Linked DNA regions of Homo sapiens: region 1 is linked to region 2. Evidence: promoter capture Hi-C in 16 types of primary human blood cells and fetal thymus (Javierre and others, 2016). All regions are on one chromosome and are shown on one strand. Each heading gives the region's core, a stretch centred on a gene start or on the middle of the fragment in contact. The rest is flanking DNA. Distances are from core to core; before and after follow the strand shown.

The links. Contacts are between HindIII fragments. The CHiCAGO score rates a contact against its expected background, and 5 or more counts as called.
Region 1: a contact is called between a fragment that was not itself captured here and the fragment with the promoter of ADH7 in region 2, in 1 of 17 cell types (M2 macrophages). The highest score is 5.9, in M2 macrophages.

The regions. Positions count from the first base shown.
Region 1 is chr4:98,091,906-98,095,121 of GRCh38, reverse strand. The region is part of intron 5 of STPG2 (sperm tail PG-rich repeat containing 2); the gene reads left to right. Among named protein-coding and RNA genes, the nearest start is that of STPG2, 50 kb to the left of the region's middle. The HindIII fragment of the contact is 3,287 bases long and covers 199-3,216 here.
Region 2 is chr4:99,433,822-99,436,825 of GRCh38, reverse strand. ADH7 (alcohol dehydrogenase 7 (class IV), mu or sigma polypeptide) reads left to right here and starts at 1,484. Exons shown (of 9, transcript NM_000673.7): 1 at 1,484-1,610. The coding sequence starts at 1,593. RefSeq lists a promoter at 998-1,571. The HindIII fragment of the contact is 5,841 bases long and covers 699-3,004 here.

The sequences.
Region 1 (3,216 bases), core at 593-3,092, 1.3 Mb after region 2:
TTATTTTAAACTGTTGTAATTCTAATTATATAAGCAAATAACATGCAGAAATAAACTAATAAAAGCACTACACTTTAATTCTCTGTTTTTTTAACTTTTTGTTGTTTTTCCTTATGTCCTATTGTACTACCTAGGTCTTGTAGTTGTTATTTTTTATTGGTTCATCATTTGGTCTTTATACTTAGTCAAGTATAAGCTTATTTTAACAAGCATAAACAACTATATACTTTGTTAAGTATAACACTGTAATTTCGTGTTTGGGAATTTACCTGATGTTCTATTATACTGTGGCTAAGCTAGCACTCAAACTATAATATGAAGTCCTTCTTGACCTACACTCCCCTTTCCACAGGCAGAGGAGCCTCTCCCTGTGTCCACTACCACCACTGATCCATGGGGGTTTGAGGTGGAGGGGTTGTGCTAGGCCACTGCCAATGTTCACTTAAAGCCCAAGGGCTCTTCTGTCAGTTTGTGATGAATGCTGCCTGGCCTGGGACACACCCTTCAGGTCAGTGGGCTCCCCTCTGACCCAGGGCAGGTCCAGAAATGCTGTCCAAGAGCCTAGGCCTGGACTCGGGGACCCCAAAAGCCTGCTTGTTGCTCTACTCCACTGGTCGAGTTGGTGCGAGACAAAGTCCCCTTTACTCTGCTTTTTAAAAACAGAATGAGTCTTTCACTGTAGCCACCACAGCTGGGAATGTGCTGGGTTGTCACTGAAGCCAGCACATTTCAGAACCCAAGGCACAAGGCAAACTCCCTAGTTATCACTGCTGATTATTCAGGGCCCAAGGGCTCTTTAGTCAGCAGGTAATGAATCATGCCTTTGCTTCAAGGCAGCAGGTTTCCTTTTGGCCCAGGGTGTGTCTAGAAATATCATTCAGGAGCTAGGGCCTGGAATGGAGGCTTCACAACTCTGCTCAATACTCTATCCAAAGTCCTCTTTACTCTTCACTCTCTTTAAGCAGAAGGAAGGAGTCACTTTCATTGCTATAAGCTGCACTGCCTGGGATTGTGGGAGGCACGGCACAAGCTCTCCTTTAGCTGCACCAGCTGGTATCTCCCTAGGTCCTGTGCTATCCTAGCTTCCTGGCTCTAAACCCAGTCTACTACTATGAATTGCCTAGAAATTGCAGTCCTTCTGTCCTAGACTGTCTTTCAAGTTTACTTAGGACCCCAGAGCACTTCACTCCGTGTAACAAGACTTCCTGAGAAACTCTAGTTCCAACCACTGGGATGGGTGATTCCCCTCTGGCTAGGGCTAGTCCAAATGCTCCTTCTATGCATGGGTGCTGGCTGAGCTCAGCATGGCTTTATTCTCCACTCTGACAGGGCAGCACCAAGTTCAATGTAAAGTCCCCCAATTGCTGTGCTTTGCCTCTCCAAAATGTACTGATTCTGTCTCTGTGCTGCATGGCTACAGTTGGGGGATGGGGAAGGAGTGACATCGATGATTCAAGACTATATCCCCTGCCTTCCTCAATGCCTCTTTTAGCGTTATGAAGTCAAAACCATGTACTGTGATTGCCACCTGGGTTTTGGTATTTGTGACGGTGCTTTTCTTCATGTAGATAGTTGTTAAAATTTTGTGTTCCAGCAGGAGAGATGAATGGTGTAGGCTTCTATTCCATCATCTTTATCCCCCTCCTATAGTATCTTTGGATTTAAGCATTTTCTGATATTGCAACAAAATGTGTAATAATATGAATATAATATTTTAATCAATGTGAGTTTTTTAAATCATAACTGTCCTTGAATTTACTTAATTTGTACATGTAGTATTGTTTTAATATATCTTTTGAATATTTATGACATTATAATTTACTGAGAATTCCTGTTAAAAAACACAAATATTAACTTTTATGCAACCTGAATAGTTCACTAAGGAATGTCTTGCCTTTGGCAATGAAAAATTTTTTAGTATCTTTCTTAATATTAACAAAGTCTTTAAGATAAATCTTTACTATGCAAAAACATTTGGTAATTGTTTCTATTGAAGTTCTTTAATTTGGTAATACAAAATATATGAAGTTGCTGTGTTAGCTTTGTATTAGGTCAAATAACTGAGTACAGTTTCACTAGGTGGCGCCAATACTTTGGCTCTTTATTGACATAACACCTTATTTATTCATTCATTTCTCAAATTCATTAAAACAAATGCCTAAAAATTATGTGGCAAGATACGAAAATTTGCCTTGAAGTTCATTTGAGCAAATCCTAAACTGGAAATTTTAGTTCTTTTGGCAGTTCTGCCAAATGAAAATACCTTGGAACTATTTAAAAATATTATTTAGATTCTAGCTGCAAACTAAGTTATTTCTATTCATCTATATAAATTTATCAAAATTATTAGACTTTTAAAAGTTATATTAAAAGATGTTATTTATAGACTAGGTTATTCTCTTGATTAGTATAAAATTTTAGGTTACATAAAATAATTTACTAATATAGATCTTAAATAGAAAGTTTTAGTTTCAAATAAGTAAAATTATGCTAAACAGGTTAATAATAAGGACATGAAAGGGAGAAATAATTTAAAACTTTCTGTGTTTTTTTCTTTAATGGGTGGATTATTCCATTAATTTCAATGTAAACATTTTTACTTTCTTCCTTATCATTGTTAGTCTTTAATATTTATTAAATTATCTGGTTACTTGGCTTTATAACAGGCACTTGGCAATTTATTACTGTTAGTAATATGTGGTAGTGGCCTTGGTTTTGAGGGTGAACAGAGACTTAAGAAGACTTGCACATAATTAAACACGCTTTTCCCCCCAAACCTAAATTAGTTGTTCATGTTACAGTTACTGTATCTCAAATTCTGATTGCTCACTTTTCCCATTTTCTAAGGAAAGTTTTTCAATTTTTAAATTATGGATTTTAAAGAAGTGAAAAAAGTGTCAATAAAGATGGAAGGGTTGAATTATTAAAAGATAAATGGACAAAATTATATGTGAGAGAAGGAGTGAGGAAGAGATTGAAAATATTTAGTTATTGCTTAAACAATAATTCAGTATCTTTTGGGAGAGCACCTTATCTCTTCAAGTCTTATTGTAAAATAGTTTGTACTGCACTGAGTGAGTTTTATATACCAAAGTCATACTCATTCATGGTAAAATTTTAAGATGTGTATAAAATAAATAAAACCTTTTGTATTTATTTATGGTTTAGTGGTAAAGAATTCAGACTTTGGAATCACACTGCATTCAATTTCTTGCT
Region 2 (3,004 bases), core at 235-2,734:
AAGTTTTGCCAAGCCCTTAAGAGGGAGTTTATCAATTCAGCGCTTTTGCATTTATGCTGTCACCACCCATGTTTGAACTCATTTTCTTTTGTTCATAAGTAAACAAGTTTTTGTTTGAAAGTCGAGACTAAGAATACCTGTCCTTGTCCACACCTGTTTAACTTTGTCTTATAGTGCCAGCAAACATACTGGAGTTCTTCAGCACTACTGCTAAAGCAATGGTGCTTACTCACAAGCCAAATCAACTGGCAATGGTTTTTCCTGGTGGATTTGATTTGGTTAATGAGTTGTAGTAACAAATTCTAATTACAAATTCTGAATTTGACATAATATATGTTAAATTGGATGTACATTTACTATGTTATATTGAAAGAGAGATGTGTGGAAAAAATGTATACTTATTTTTGAAAAGAAACTTTTGTTTGTATCTGAAAAATAAACTCTTAGCAAATTTCATCTCTGGGTTGTTAAGAGTCCAGGTTCTGGACTTCATAGCTTGAACAGCTTTGTCTGAAGACTTAGAAAACCTGCTTCACTGGATCACTTAACAAAAGTAAAATATCCTTTGTGTAAAGTTTTCTTGGAGGTGATGGTGTACCAGTATGCTGACCATCTGGTGTACCAGTATGCTGACCATCTACTGTCAAAAATAACATCTATACTGGACATTCTCCTATCAAATAATAGATCCAGAAGCTTCTGGAGCCATTGCAACTTATATTAAGAAATAATGGTCTGTAATGGTTAAACAGCTACTCAAGAAGACCTAGGTACTTGCCCAAGTAGATGAAAACCCTCTGGCATTCGATAGCCAGTATGCAGGCTGGATTTCAATTTCTCTTGAGCCCCTGCACTGTGTTACATTGGTGCCGTAAACAAACTGTACAACCATATGAGGCAACTCTGTGGTTAATGGGATTTGGAGTCAGATGATAATTTCTCTAAGTGCAGACACAGAAAGTTTCACTTAACTTTCTACACCTAAAATACTTAGAAACCATAGTCATCCATATTGATATTTTATATCATCTCAACTTCTCTTGCCCAAACTTGACCTACTGTTGCAATTATTTTACATTTCCTTGGCTCTGTTTTCATTTATATTTAATTCCAGAAACCACATCAAGTCTTTGCAGAATGAAGTAGAGCATTAAGAAGTAGAGATGTACACACGCATCTCTAAAATCAGCCATGCCTAGGCAAAGCAGCTTGCACTTAAACACCCAATACATTTTTCATGATTGTGTTGAAGTGAAGTAACCTAACCCGTTTTTATATCCTTCAAAATAAGGTGGATAGGAATGCTTTCAGCCCTTTTCAATAGCTTTGATTATCTTGTTTTTGTTAGATCCCTCCTCTTGGTTTGATCATAGTAGTTACTGTATTTCTTTTTATAAGTTGGTCTGCAAAGGGTAGGGCTTGCAGACCATTGCAAAGTTGTGACGGCTGTGAGTCATATTGCTGAAGGTGGAACTCTGAAGCCAGACTATCTATGTGAAGGCACAAGCTGCTGTTATATACAACAGAGTGAACTGAGCATCAGTCAGAAAAAGTCTATGTTTGCAGAAATACAGATCCAAGACAAAGACAGGATGGGCACTGCTGGAAAAGTAAGTGGAACATTTCTGTCCCCTCCTCATCATGACCTAATGATGTGAGGCTGATACTTAGAACTTTGAATCCATTAAAGTAATTAAACACTTGGAGATATTCCTTGAGGAATGAAATGCTTGGTGAGCAGGCATACAGTGAGGGAAACACTGGATATGGTGTTTCAGAGAATGTCAGTGGAAGCAGGGGTAAGTTGGAAATAGTATATCCAATGTCAGCAAGACATTGGTGGAAAATAGAGAAATTGATTTATATTGGCATTATTCATAATTTGATTTCCGGATAGCTGGGCAATTGCTCCAGGAAGCCAAATGTTTCCACAAGGACACTTCAATCGTCTCAGTAGCATGTGCTGCACTCGCTGCAGTAGTTCAATGGGAAACCAGGGTCTCATGCCCAGATGTTGGAAGAAACGTTCCTGCCATTAAGAATGGAAAATGCTAATTCTGGGATGCAAAATGGCCAAGAAAGTGTCATGAATTTTAGGTTTCTTACAAATGTAATTTTTATCAAAATATATATTTAAAAATTCTTTAAAATCAAGACTATATTATTGGTAAAGTATGTTTATCGTTCTAAAAACAACAGAGTTAGCAGAGTTGGTATTAACTTTAGAAACAGCTTTGCTTTGTTTTTTTTTATTTGAAAATAGGTCAGTATATTTCCTTACTTTAAATGGGTACATAATTGCTTAAAGGACTAAATTTTTTTGTTTGTTTTGTTTTAACTTGAACAATTTTGCATTTAGCTTGCTTAAGGTTTTGGAAAAATAAAGATGACATGAGAAGTCTGGGTAATGTGACAAGTCAGGAGACTCTATGATGTTAGAATTTGAAATAAGTTTTACTAGAATTGGATAGAACTGGAATAAAACCATCCTAATTTGGGTCAGAAATCCAGCAAAACTAGATTACTTGGGAAGTTAATTTTGCACTACAGAAACTAGCAACTCTACCCATGGATATTAATGAATCTTAGAACTGAAAGGAATCTTAAAAATTTGCAACTTTTACCACCCAACAGATGCTTCAGGTCTGGTTACACTATTTCTAGGAAGTCGATATTCATCCACTGTAAGAACATTTCTGATGATGGAGAAAGTAGCCTCAAGGCAGCACTTTCCAATTAATAATACAGTATATAATATATAAAGAGTATAAAAGTTATATGATTTTGATATATGGTCATGCAATAGTGTGGTTTGCCTAAGGATTATATATTTCCCAACTTTCTGTAGTGTTCCAGTGTAGCTCTTGAAAGGAGTTTCCCTTTACATTGGGATTGATTTTTTCTCTTTATAATAAATGTTTTCTTTTTCATTAAAAAAGTAAAAGATAACTGTATTAGTTTCCTAGGGCTTCCATAACAAAATATCACAGACTGGGTGGCTTAA